Linked DNA regions of Homo sapiens: region 1 is linked to region 2. Evidence: promoter capture Hi-C in 16 types of primary human blood cells and fetal thymus (Javierre and others, 2016). All regions are on one chromosome and are shown on one strand. The core of a region is centred on a gene start or on the middle of the fragment in contact, and the rest is flanking DNA. Distances in the headings are between cores, read along the strand shown.

Region 1 (6,721 bases), core at 1-2,500, 900 kb after region 2:
AAGGTTTTTTTCTCTCTTCCAATTCAATTTGTTAGGCGACACTTCAGTAAACAGTAGGGGCAAGATAGAGTGGAAACAGCCAAGATTTCAAGCCTAGTAATAAGCAACTTCTACATCCCTACTCATCACAGGCCTTTTTGTCTATCCCAGAAACACATACTTTTCCTGAAAAAACAAAGCACTGGAAGGATTACCAAGTCTAGAAAGAACCCGCCCTCCCCAAACTAGGTGGTTTTCTGATAAGCCTAAGGTATGTTTCACAGGATCACTGGTTGCCATCTCCTACCCAGCAATCTGGAGAGGTTGACCAGAATAAAGTATTTTAAAATCCAAGCGCTTAGTCTAACCTGGAATTTCCTCAGTTTCTAGATGGCTCTTTGTAGAACAATGCAGATTCTCAAAGGTGACCACAGTTAAAGAAAAAATTACAAGCCATTGCGCTAGAGAGAGCCATCTGCAGTTTCTCCTTAGACAGATGTTCAGATGGCACACATGGCCACTAAATTTGCATAATATTTCAGGAAGTTCACAGATTTCCCGAAGCCCACTCATGAATCACACTTCTGGTTAAGAACTCCTAGATTCATATGCTAGTTGGTGATAAGTGCTTTGGTATATAAACTTAAACCAAAAATTGGTGGAATAATTACCACCTTGGATAGGATGGTCAGAGAAGTTTTATCCGAAGAGGTCACTTTTGAGCAGAGACTTGAGCTGGTGCAGACACCTGAGTGTGCATTCCAGGAAACGCGAACAGCAGGCGCAAGGGTCCCTATGAGAGAATGTGCTTGGCGGGCTCGACGCACATTTATTTACTTGGGACACACCCTATTTTGGTTTCTCTTCTCCACTTTTCCCCTCGTTCTTGTCCCCCCTTTTCTCTCTCCTGGGCCCTGGATCTCCTGAGCGCGGAGGGCTACGCCTCCTTCTTCCTCCGGACTCACCAGGGCTGCCAGCTTAGCTTACATTTTCAGGGAACAGGAAACTGAGAGTCAGGAAAGGTGAGCTCTTCTACCTCGGGTCTTGCCATTTTGCATGTCCTGAGTCAGTCACTGGTTAACTCTGAACTTCAGGTTCCTCGGCAATTAGAGATTATAAATAGCCTATACAGCCTATTCCAGATCTGAGATTCCAACAGCCAAAGTCTTTTCACTTCCTTTCTTCCCCCTCTCCTTCACTTTCCCAGCTTTCTTCTTAACCAACAATCTACCCGAAACCGTCGTTTCTTGGTTAGCGCTTGCGCAGACAGGCGAGAAAGGTAAGTTTTGACCCAGCTTAGCAGCCGTAGTCAGCCGGGAGTGCTGTCGTGGGGGATTGTGGGAAAAGATGGCGGCTGCCGCACAATCCCGGGTTGTCCGGGTCCTGTCAATGTCACGTAAGTGTTACCGGGAACGGCGGCCCCTGGTCGGGATTCCGAGACGGGGATTTAAGGTTTTGGAAGTGGCACCGTGCTGCAGCGGTCACGCCAACTTCCTAGGCACACTCTGGTTTCTCTAGGTTTGGAGCTGCCTCAGTCTGGTTTCTCCTTTCGCTTTCCGCTTCCCCGGCTCACATATTCAATTGTGCACCACCTTGGGAGGGGACAAAAGATCTTAAGCAGCTGTAAGCGAAGAGGAGAATGCGGGGGACACGTTAGGGATCGAGAGAATCAGAATTCTGATATGGTTGTAAGGGTTTAGGGTTATGAGAAATATTTGTATGGGGCGGGGGGAGAAATGTGTAAGGGAGGGAAAAAAGGCTAGTGGCGAGAGGTTTTCTTAGATTGATTTTATGACCTTGTGCAAACCCTTAATGGGTCTCAATTCATATGAGCACAATGGAAATGATAATATTACAATACCAGGGAGTCTCTGATAAGATTAAATGAGCTAATATTTGTAAAAGCATCCTTTTACCCAAAAGCGTCTCTACGGATGTAGAATGTGTTCGGCAAAGTGCGTTGGGGTCTGGGGGAGAGAGTGATGTTTGAGGAGAGAAGAATCAGGAGCTTGGTGGAAAGGAAAGTGAAGAATGAAGGCTATGTTAGAATTTGTTAGCATTATTTAGTTTCTCTTCTGTTCTGATTGGATCTGCTCCCACTCCTCAAACTGAAAACATACATTTGTCCTTCCACTCACTAAAAAGCAAGGAAATTAGAAATACGGTTACACTTCATCATTGTCCTTTCACCCTCTACTCTTCCACAAACATATTCCAATCAAACCCCCAAAGTTGTATTTTTCTTAGTGTATTTTAGTCGTTACAGAATATCATTTGCTTTCAAAATTGGCTCATGTCAGAATCACTCGTAAAGCTTTATAAAAATTAGAAATGAGGACTGAGTGTAGAGCTATTGAGTCAGAATTTGTGAGATTAGCTCCTTGCACCTTAAATTTTTAAAAGCACCACAGATAGGCTTGATGTTCAGCCTGAGGCAAGAATTAGGAGTGTTTAGAGGATCCTTTTTTTTTTGTTTTCCATCTTGGGTAGAACTCCTGCATACCACTGGGAAGGTGGTGGTGCACATCACTTATAGTGGATGGTTTTGTAGTCACAATGTCTTTGCAAAGACATTTGCTGGTTCTTGTTAAACTATTACAATTGTATGACGTAATGTAGATTGTGAATGGTAATCACTATTTATTGAGTACCTGCTATCTGCAATCTCCAGTTCTAGGTATTTTTATTAATTTTCCTCTTTTAACTTACTTTCCTCTGACTGACACCATAGCTTGTGTTCTTAACCACTCTGCGTTATTGTCTGGTAAAGTAAGTTTTTGAGTAAATTCTGTAGAGGCAAGTCTAGTATGTAACATAATCCACACACTATAGGACAGAACTGTGTAAGACAACTATATATAGTTAAGTGTGGCAAGACTATTAAGTATCACAGGAAATCATAAAAGGGAAAGATTAGTATCATTTGAGGTACTGAGGGATGATTGGAAGACCAGTGGAGAATTGTAGTGCTCCCACTGGTCTCTTTAGGGCTGTTATGATCTGGAAAGTCCTCTGGCAAAGACAAGTGGGTGAGAATGGAGTCATGAGGTATTCAAGAGGCAGTGAAATGACTACCTGAATATCTGGGATAGTGGAAAAGGAGGTTGAATGTGTTAGATGGGATCAGACAATGGAGACCTTTGAAAGCCAAGCAGAGTTTAGATCGGTAGTCTCCAAAGGGAGTTGTGCAAGAGGACCTAATAAGTTGTGGAAATATAAATTAGAACTCCTAAAAATTGCTTTCTATAGTAATAATAGCTAACACTTATGTAGTTTAAACTGTATGCCACACACTATTCTAAGTAATGTATGATTTATAATGTGTATATCATATTGGTACTACATAGAACGTGCATATAATTTTTTAAATAAATACTTAAAAAAATTAATGCAGTGTGCAAGCAAATATGTCTGGACTATTGGTTTGGGTATTGCAGTAGGAAACTAATGTAGGTTTTTAAGCAGAGAAATATAATGAATATATAATTAATAAAGAATATCATTCTTCTAATAGTACTCATAATAAATGGAAGAAAGTGGAGAGGCTGGAACCAAAGAGAGTAATAATTTATATTTATTGAGCACCTAGTATTTGCAAGGCACTGTGACAGATGCTTGCCCATATGTTATTCTCATTAACCCTTTAAACTGTGAGCTTCATGAAGCCAGGGTTTTGTATTTTACTGTGATAGTCACAGTTTCTAGAATAATTCTTGGCCCATAATTATTAAAAAAAAACAATAGCCATGTGAGGTTAGTGTGACATTACCTTCTGAGAAATTTCAAAGTAATAAAAGCAACTATTATTCATAGAATGCTTAATGTGCTCTAGGTAATGTGCTACGTGGTTTATGTATGTTTAATCCTCTTAACAGTCCTTTGAGGTATTAATTCCTCAACTCAAGTAATTCTTCCCAGTTCATTGACTCTGCCATCTTTTGCCTGTCTTATCCTATGTCCTCATTTCCTTACTCTTCACTCTTATCATTCCCTTTTATGCATCCTCAACTCCCCAGCCCAACTCCCATTGTCGTAAAAAACATTGACCCTGATTAAACAAAACTTTCCACGTAATTTGCTGCCTGCCACTGAGCAATGGAGAACGGGGCTAGGGAAAACTTCAGACTAACTGGCCTTATTTTAAATTCATGAATACAAATCTCAAGTAGATTTTCAGTGCTACATTTTTCTAGGAAATTTGGTTTCCTTGTCTCCATAATCATTACTTAACATAGCGAGTTTCCTAAAACCTCTAACATGTGCTTTTGTCTCATTCTCAGCTTTACAGAGAAATCAAAGGAATCAGATGAGAACAGTCATTTTCCCACCATAAACTCTAATAGTTGATATGTGATAATTCTTTGCCTTTTCTCTTGTTACAGTGGGTGAGCTCCTTCTGTTCCAATCTGTGGCCAGTTCCTTCACTTTGCATTCAATCTTATCCTCTCTCAACTATTCATTCCCTTTCCTGAATCAGTAATTTTCTACCTCTACCATGGAAATCATGTCATTTCCATCAGCACATAAATGTTAACTCATATTTAAAACAAACAAACAAACCTATTCCTGTCCTTGTTTTCTCTAGTTCCATTTCTCCTTTTTCAGAAGGATTGTGTATACTCCTCATCTACTTCCTTGCCTCACAGCCTCTCTTGTTTGCTCCAGTCTGGCTTTCAGTCCCACTAATCCAATAAAATTGCTCTTATTTATGCCACCTACAGCCACATCCTCCAGCTTCTGTGGTCCTCTGTCCTCTTCCTACTTCACTTTCAGCATTTGGTAAAGTTAACCATTCTCTCCTTGAAACAGTTTCTTATTTTGGGTTTTTAGATTCTGTTTCCTTCTGAGTTTTTCTCCTACCTCATGGGACTGCTTTTTAATCTCCTTTACTAGTGCTTTGGGCTAGTCACTAACCTTATCCATAAAGTGGTGATAAAGATAGCATTAAAAAAGATAATACCTATGCAGCACTTAGAATAATGCTGGACACCTGCCAAGAGCTCTGTAAAGGTAGCTGTTAATATGATGTTATTATTTTGTTATTATGATGTGTGGTCCATGATGTTTACTTTTAATTTCTGTCACTATCAGTGAGCTAGGCTATTTCTCCAATTCAATACTTTTGGATAGGGAAGAACAATGACCTTTGGGCAGAATGCCACCTGAAAGTCATCCCTAGAAACAAACACAGATTTTCTAAAGAAAGTCCTGTTTGTGTCTTTCACCTCTCCCAAGTGTACAAAGCACGAATGCTAAGCTCCGAAGTTTGTTGATTGGAGCAGAAGTGCGTTAGCACTTTAAACCTTTTTGTTTCTACTTACATGAAAGTTGAGCAGCTAACTCTAAAATTCTATTCTAAGGAGTTAGCAATAACTTGAAAACTGGAATGTATCCAAAAGAGATTCTCATTCCTGCCATATGAAGAATATTTGACAGGACAGGGAATGTTTAACCTGGAGAAGAAAATATTTAGTGGGGCTATAATTGCTACACTTAATTGTAGAAGAGGGATTAGACTTGTTCTTTGTCATTCTGGAGGAACACAGGGATAAAAACTTCTGGGAAGCAGTCACTGATTCCCCTTGTGGTAGAACTTTCTTTCTGTTAGAATGGCTCAAAGCAGAATGGGCAGCTACAGGAAGTAGTGAGTTTCCCAACTCCACAGGTGTTCAGGCAAAAGCCAGATGATTTCTTTGCACACATGCTGTAGAGAAGATGTAAGCATTGGTACATGAACTTTGAGGGTTCATTCTAGTACCAAGAACCTCAGTCAATGAAAAAGAAATGGTGGAATGTTTGACAAGTCTCTTGCTGTTAAACTTTCTAAAAGTCAGAATATCTTTTCTCAAGCACTTCACTCCTTTTATCATTATTTGTGATGTTCTTCAGTGGTTTTATAGTAAGTCTGAACTATTGAACTGCATTCTTTTTTTTTTTTTTTAATGTTCTGTACTAATAATCATCTGCTTCCGACCAGTATCATCAACCTTATTTTTCATTAGTCACCAGTTTCAGATTCTGTTCCAGGAGAGTCTTTTGCTGTTGCCCTGTGCTGTAGGCTTATTCATTCTACCTCTGCATTGTGATGTGTTCCTCATGGGATTCTGTCCTTTCTTTTTTTTTTCCTCTTTTAAGACCTTTCTCAAAACATTTTATCCAGGAATACTTCCTCATGGTAATGTGATTTATTGCTCATTTATTACATATTCTCAGTTCCTTTTACCGTATAGGCTTATGCTTTCCTACTTTGTGACTGTTTAATATGTTTTTTAAAAAATGTGACTTATCTTCTTAGGTAAGTTACATTGTATAGGGTAGGGAGTATATTTCCTCATGTCCTCTGGATTCTGTGTCGTAGTAGTTTGTGTTTATTATTGCCCTTGATACTTAAATTGCTAAAGTACTGATTGCAAAATAATGTTACAAGTTTTTAGAGAAAGGAGCTATTTGTGTTGACAGTTTTAAAAATATTAATATTTGCCATGCTTGTATACTTTGGGGTTTTGTTTAAGGTTCTGCCATTACTGCAATAGCCACATCTGTGTGTCACGGCCCACCCTGTCGCCAGCTTCATCATGCCCTCATGCCTCATGGGAAAGGTGGACGTTCCTCAGTCAGTGGGATTGTGGCCACTGTGTTTGGAGCAACAGGATTCCTGGGGCGATATGTTGTCAACCACCTTGGTAAGTAAAGTTCCTTAAGTTCATATGCTCCATTGCCATTGATCAGGATTGCCTGATGA
Region 2 (7,530 bases), core at 3,358-5,857:
ACAAGGGGGATGCTCTGTCTCCTGAAGAATCTGTCACAAAAGAAAATTCTATAGCCCTCAAGCTGGAAGAGGCCCTGGAGATAACTTTGTCATCACAGGGTGGCACCCTCTAGTTGCCCCAGGCAGATGAGGTCCTAGAGGAACCCGTCCCTAATATTGAACTTCAAGAGGTCCTTCCTGTATCTAACTCAGCCTTCAGAGAAAGGGCAGAGCAGTTACAAGGCAAGGATGACTGAGAACTCCAACACCTGAGGCCAAGACTCAGCACTGTGTACAAGGTGTGGAGCCTGTAGAGGACAAACCTGACTGAGGGTTGTCCTCCCCCTCACCTCAGCCTGACTGCAAATTTGTTTATGTCATCCGGATGACGTCATGCTAACTTGACCAGTTGGAGCAGCTGTGAGGGAAAACAGACCCCAAAGGTCCCTCTCCTGAGTCCTGTGAGGGGAAGGGGGTGTCTTTGTGTGGATGCTGTTGGTGAGTAGAGAGCCAATGGAGCATAACGCTTACAGTGCAGGCTCTGAAATAGCCAAGCTGCCTGAGTTCAAATCCTGCCTCTACCGTGTATCGGCTGTGTGACCATAGACATGATACTGTGCCTCTCTCTTCCTCAGTTAACTTTTCTATAAAATGGGCATGATGGCAGTGCCTAGCCAATTGGGTTGTAGTGAGGCTTCCATAAGGGAATACATGGACAGCCCTTGGGCCATGCCTGGCACTTTCTTTGCATTGCTCTTGTGAAGGTGACCAGTTTGCCTGGAACATCCTGGCTATGCTTGTGGTCCCAGCATTGCTATGAATATTCCCCCTTTCACTCCCGGCAGTGCCCGAGGTTGGATGATGTATTATAAGAGTGACTCCCTTTGGCTTCTTCATGTCCACCTGGTTATCTCCCTGCTTCATGCTGCCTCTGAGTACTGGGGAGCCAGGTTCCCAAAATATAGGTCCCCAAAGTAGGTTCTGCCCATGCCACTGAGCTGTCTGCTCCACAAACTCAGCTCTTCCTCTTTTCCTTCTTCTCTGCACTTTGTCTCTTCTCCTTCCTTGATCCTTACAGCCATCCTCTCCTTTCCTGCTTCCCTGTCCGTGCCTTAGGATTCTGCTGGTGCACACAGGTACCGTCTGGCTTTATTGGGACTTCCCCCTGACCCTGTACTTGGACGGAACCCTTTATGGCTCTAACTAAACTGTGCCTTATCAAATTTCTCTCAGAGGAAAGGAAGCGATTTGAAAAGGCAAAGAAATGACCAATAGATGGATGAGTGGAACAATGTGCTGGTTTTTGTTGTTGTTGTTGTTGCTGTTTCTTTGTGTGTGTGTGTGTGTGTGTGTGTGTGTGTGTGTGTGTGTGTGTGTTGTGTTGGTAGGAACAAAAAGTGTACCAGTTTGAAATGGTCCATTGAATGCTAGACCTGTCTATAGAACTGTCCCCAGGGCTATTTTTTTTATTTTTTATTTTTATTTTTTGAGACGGAGTATCGCTCTTGTCACTCAGGCTGGAGTGCAATGGCGCAATCTCAGCTCACTGCAAACACCGCCTCCCGGGTTCAACCAATTCTCCTGCTTGGCCTCCTGAATAGCTGGGATTACAGGTGCCTGCCACCAAGCCCAGCTAATTTCTGTATTTTTAGTAGAAATGAGGTTTTGCCACGTTGGCCAGGCTGGTCTCGAACTTCTGACCTCAGGTGATCCACCCGCCTCAGCTTCCAAAGTGCTGGGATTACAGGTGTGAGCCACCAAGCCTGGCCCCCAGGGCTATTTTACAGGAAACCCTGGAGGCTCCTCTGCAAGACAGCGGCCTCCATGTGTGTCAGTGCAGAAAGCAAAACCTCTGGAGCCCAAGGGCCTGGACCCATTTCTGCCACTCACTAACAGCTGACAAAGGACCATGATTTCGCAAAGACTCAGTTTCTCCATCCGTAAAATAGGGCAGACTTGTCTCTAGAACACCGTGATTCTATGACATTGTAAGAGGCCGTGGACCTGCTCTTAAGATCCTGAATTCTGCAATATTCTGCAATATTTGGCAATTACATCTTTTAGCTCTTCTCTAGGGGAAACATACGAGGGAAACAGGGCCTTGGAAAATATAAAATCTGAACTAATTCTCACCTAAGGTATCATGGCAAGTGCCTGAGTCCTCTGTGCATTGCAACAAAATAGACACTATTTTGTGTGGAAGAAAAGCAAGAGAGAGATGTGAACTCAGTGGGTGATTAGCCTGTCCCTGAGGAATCCCTCACTAGCTCTCCCCTAGCTTCTCTCAGCTGCATTGCCAGTACCCAGGCAGCCTGCAGATTCAACCCTCCCTCCCCACAACAGGTTCAGCAAACCATTGCAACAAGGAGCCCCAAGGCAGAATGGATGGCTACTGCGGCCACTGCCCCAGTGCTGGGGCCTGCCTTCTGCAGGCTCACCACAGCGTGACGCATCTCCAATCACCCCCCACACCTGGGGTTCCATCTCTGTCAGTGGCATCACCAGCCACTCTAACTCTGGAATCCAAATCGCCATCATCTTGGTCTCTTCTGCTCTGGTCCCTGACATTTATTCAGTTACCAGATTGCATCTACTCCATTGTTCTCTGGGTTAAAATCCCCATCCCACCACTTATTTTCTGTATGACCTTGGATAAACCACCTAACCTCTCTCTCAGTTTCCTCCTCTACAATATGGAACAATCATAGCAATCTCCTCATGAGGTTGTCAGGAGGATTAAATGAGATTAAACATGAAAATCTCCTACCACAGGCCCTGGCACATGGCAGATGACTTTTCCCCTACCCCCAAGCCTTTTAGCCCCTTCCTGTCCATTCCCACCAGCCCTGTTCAACCCCTCATGGTGACTGCAATGGGCTTCTTCCCAGGTTCTCTTCCCACAGCTTCCTCCACTGCAGTACATCCCATACCCAGGTGCAGATGACATGTTCTTCTGAACCCAGCTCCAGGAACAACACTTCCCTTCTTAGAAACCATCAAAATATCCCTAGGCTTAATAATGAAGTTTCTAGACTCGTAACACTCCAAGCCTCTGCCATCTCTCCCAGGCAGCACTCCTCACCGGATTGTCCACTACATTACTCCTTGCTCCTCAGGTACAACCCACCTTCACGGCTTTGCTCAGCCGTCCTTCCCCAAGATGCCCAGACCCAGCCTCCTATTCAAGGCCCGGCCTCAGTGCCACATCCAGGACGCCCTCTGCGAGTCACTCCTTCCAGAAGTAACCTCCCTCCTCCAAACTCCCTCTACACACTTTATAGTATAGAACCGAGAGGTGACAGGACCTCGGAAGCCGTACCTGAAGCCTCTCACTTATAGAACCGAGAGGTGACAGGACCTCGGAAGCCATACCTGAAGCCTCTCACTTATCACTTAAAAACTGCGCATGAAGTAGCTCTTATGGGCAAATACTAAACCATGAGGTTGTACATATTCATTTCACCTGAAAAGGGGCATGAACTCTGGACCCTTCAACAAAAATGCTGATTCCACGTGGAGCAAACTGCTCTGATTTCATATCCCTATGCCCACATCCTTGATAAAAAGACTCTTCGGTACATGCTGCTTTCTTCCAGAGACAAGGAACCCATCACCTCATGAGTTAGGTTCTTCCTCCTGACCCTCTGACCACCCTGGGGACTCCCACGGATTGGCTCTTTCTGTCCTCTTGAGTCACACAGAACGAATTCCTTTGAGACTCCTGGTGTCCTCCACAGAGCCAAACAGGGCAGGTTCCTAAGCACACTGTGTAAACAGATAAATGAACTCAGAGGGCTTTCCCACGTGGCAGGGTACATTCGCTGCATCCCGTGCATGCATGGGTGCACAGACACACACTCGCACACACACGGACACACACACACACACACGGACACACACACACAGACACACACACACACGGACACACACACACACGGACAGAGTCAGCACAACGCCTCTGAGCCACACAGCCAGGCCAGCACACGCGGGGGCCAGGGCGGAAGCCAAGCCCCAGCAGCCGCCCACTTCCTGACCTCCTTCCTTTGCTCTGGGAGGTTCTCTCTCTGTGTCTTTCTGACTGTCTGTCTCGGTTCTTTGTTTCTCGGCATGGCAACAGTTGTGGATGCTGCCTGCGTGGCCAGGGCTCCTAGTAGCACTGACCTGCAAGGTAGGAGTTTTGGTTCTTAGACTTGAGACCTTGGGCAAGTCACTTTACCATTCTGAGCCTCAGTTTCCTCATCTGTGAAATGAAGAGGCTGGATGAGGCTGGAGGGTTCCTAAGGTCCTTTCCTGACCAAAACCCTAGTGCTTCTCGGCTCTCCTCCAGTCCCGTTACCGAGTGACAGGGAGGGGAGCAAGGGCCAGGCCAGGCCTGGGGGTGGCAGGGGAGCCAGCTGTTCCCCCCCAAGGGCACACAGCCTCCATCCAGGCCCTCTGCGAGTTCCATGTGCGGCAGACACGCGCTCACACTTCGCAGCCGGAGGAGCAGGCAGGAAGCGCCGCCCCCCGGCCGCCCCGGCCGCCCACCCTCAACCTTCCTCCACGTTACCTTGGGCGTGTAGGCTTCCCGTGGACCTGCCCGCGCCGCCCGCTCGGCTCTCAGCTGTCAAGCAGCCGCCTGCTCCGCCCGACTCTTTCCGCTCCGAGCCGCGCGGGCTGGACCAGCCCCTCAGCGGAGCTGAACGGGAAGCGGCGCCCCCTGGACGCCCTCCGGGACGTGCGCGCGCCAAGCGGTGGGGTCCGGGCCTGCAGGCGCGACCTGAGGCCGCCAGGGAGGCTGGGTGGCGAGGGCGGGGCGGCTGCCGACTTAGCCGGCCTGACTGGTCGGGCTTCCGGGGTCCCGCTGCTCCCTAGGCCCCTTGCCCCGATTCAGGCTCCCAAGGTGGGGCATCAGTCCGGCCCTCGCTGGCTCACTGGAGAGGTGGTGTCTGGGAGTGCACCCCCGAAAACCCGGCAGCAGCCCGGCGTCACTCCGGCTGTTACCTCTGGGAGCAGAAACTAAAGGGGATCCTTATTCTTTATACTTTTCTGACTCTTCTATATATTCTACTGTGGGCATGAATCGTTAAAAACAAAACAAAACACCAAAAACCCAATACGTATTTGTTAATAAAGCACTGAGTAAATCTTCAAAGGCCTCCCGAGGTGCTCCGGCTGCAGGATAACCCCTCAGCTTAGCGCACAAGGCAAGGCCCACCCTGCCCTCTCCGGCCACAACCTAATTTTCCAGCCTCACCCTCTCTCCCTCACACACACACAACACTTTCGCTCTGGACACACTAGCTGTTGCCAAACACCAGCTGTTCTTCATGGCTGCTGGGAGTTCTTCTTTTTGCCTGGAACACCCTCCCCTTTCATCTCTGCCTGTTGAAATCCTACTCATCCATCCAGGCCCCTCTGAAATGTCACCTTTTTGGAGAACCCTTCCCCAGACACTGCCCCTGCAGAGTGCCCCAGTTCTTTCCTGGCAAGCCCATCTTTCTGGTACTGGTTTATGTAGTAGCATCCCCCTCTCACACGCGCTAAGTCCTATTCCAAGGTGGAGAGAAACAAATTAGCACTTACTGAGCAGCTGTTATAAATTACTCTGTGGAGTCCTTTCTTCTCCTTGCAGCCCAGCCAGCCACTAGCCCACAACCTCCCTCCACCCTGCCAGAGTTTCAGAAGGCTGTCAGGGGCTCTGAGGCCTGCCCTCTGGTGTGTCCCTACTGCGTGCCTTGGCTTTTCTGGCTCTGTCCTGGGTATGCTTCCCTGTGTCAACTCCCAAGGTCTGCAAGCTGGTGGCTTGACCTTCTCTCAGCCTTATGTGAGGAAAGAAGGACATTTCATTATCAGAATCTGAGAAGTGGAAGGGGCCTCAGAGATTATCCAGTGTAAAGCCTGCCCACCCATTTTACAGAGCAGAAAACTGTGACCAGAGAGATAAGGTCAGAGGCATCGGAGGTACCTACCATTGTTATTGTTGTTTTTAATAGTGTTAATACTTGCACGTTTAGATCGCCTTTCACTTCTAAATCAATGCGTTGTCATTCATTTGCCCCTTACAGTCTCAGAGGTATTACAGTGGTTAGTGCACAGACTCTGGAGGCCAAAGCCCTGGGTTTGAATCTCAGTGCTCCAACTTGCCAGCTACGTCCTTGGCAAGTTACTGGAACTTTCTCCATCAGTACAATGTGGATAGTAACAGCTCCTGCATCATGGGGTGTTCTATGAATCGAAATAAATGTGTATCTTTAAAGGGCTTAGAATAGTAGTAGGTTCATTAAAAATGCCAAATGTATTTGCTCTTATCAAATTTTTGTTATTGTTAATTGTATCACTTCACAGTTGGAATAACAGAGGCTCAGAAAGGCTGAGACTCATCCAAAAAATTGCTGCTTTGAGGATGGTTTCTCACCAAACTCCATGCAGTCATCTTTGTCTCTGATGCCATTCTGCTTCCTGTTCCCTTGTGTCTGAGTCTAACCACCTATTTAATAGGGAAGAAAAGCAACTGTCCTTTAGCCCACCTCAGAACACCTAGACATTTCATGTTGCAAACATTAACCACATCTTCTGGCTTCTATGGGGATGTCTCTAATTTGCTGGCGTTTTCTTTAACAGAACACCACGCCTCATGGTGCCCTTCAGAATCACAGAGCCATCACATTAACTGCTGCAAGTTCAGCTTGTACATTCGTGCCTCTTTTACTCTTGGCCCGTGGCAGAAAAGCGACAGGGAAAAGATGGTTCTTCCAATGTATGGATGTAGGAAACTGAGGCACAGTTGATACTCACTGATTGGCCCCAGGCTATGGAGCTAGCCTGGACCATGGGAAGGATGAGGATCTCCACCTCCTCTTTCCCCATGATTACATGATTCAGTGTTGCAGGAGAAACCCAAACTCGTTTATTCAATGAGGATTTATTGAGCTCTCTCTAGGTGACGAATAAGACCGAGGCAAGGCTGGCTTCCTGGGCATATGACCTATGAAGTCACATAGGCCAGAGGTCCCCAACCTTTTTGGAACCAGGAACCTGTTTCGTGGAAGACAATTTTTCCATGGACCAGGGGTGGGAGTGGGGGGTGGGAATGGTTTCAGGATAAAACTGTTCCACCTCAGATCATCAGGCATTAGTTAGATTCTCATAAGGAGTGTGCAAACTAGATCCCTCACATGCACAGTTCTCAATAGGGTTCACGGACCAGTACCCCATTACCGGTTTGTGGCCTGGGGTTGGGGACCCCTGACATAGGCCACTCACTTAGAAGGGCTTCATACAGAGTTTAATGCTGTCCTGCCACCTTCTTGAAATCTTAACAATTTTTGAACAAGGGGCCATATAAGTTGTATTTTACACTGGACCATTCAAGTTGTACAGCTGGTCTGGACCTAGGCTCTTCCCTAGGAGCTCTGTTTCACAGGGAATCAGCCAGGGAGTTGACAACTGCAGTTCAGTACGATGGGGGTTGTGACAGAAGCAGGGTAGCCGTGAAAGAAGAACAGGACCTTGGCCAGTATTCAGCTCACTTGGGTCATCCTCCCCAGCTGTGCAACCTGCCCAGCTGCC

The links. Contacts are between HindIII fragments. The CHiCAGO score rates a contact against its expected background, and 5 or more counts as called.
Region 1: the fragment with the promoter of AKAP3 here is called in contact with a fragment that was not itself captured in region 2 in 1 of 17 cell types (total CD4 T cells); the score reaches 5.7 in total CD4 T cells.

Annotation. Positions count from the first base shown.
Region 1 is chr12:4,647,801-4,654,521 of GRCh38, forward strand. AKAP3 (A-kinase anchoring protein 3) reads right to left here and starts at 1,251. Exons shown (of 6, transcript NM_001278309.2): 1 at 945-1,251. NDUFA9 (NADH:ubiquinone oxidoreductase subunit A9) reads left to right here and starts at 1,314. Exons shown (of 11, transcript NM_005002.5): 1 at 1,314-1,375; 2 at 6,492-6,662. The coding sequence starts at 1,327. RefSeq lists enhancers at 676-725, 1,006-1,215, 1,084-1,739. The HindIII fragment of the contact is 2,310 bases long and covers 1-2,291 here.
Region 2 is chr12:3,748,487-3,756,016 of GRCh38, forward strand. It overlaps CRACR2A (calcium release activated channel regulator 2A), which reads right to left and starts at 4,623. Exons shown (of 20, transcript NM_001144958.2): 1 at 4,529-4,623. RefSeq lists a silencer at 4,358-4,857. The HindIII fragment of the contact is 9,621 bases long and covers 1-7,530 here.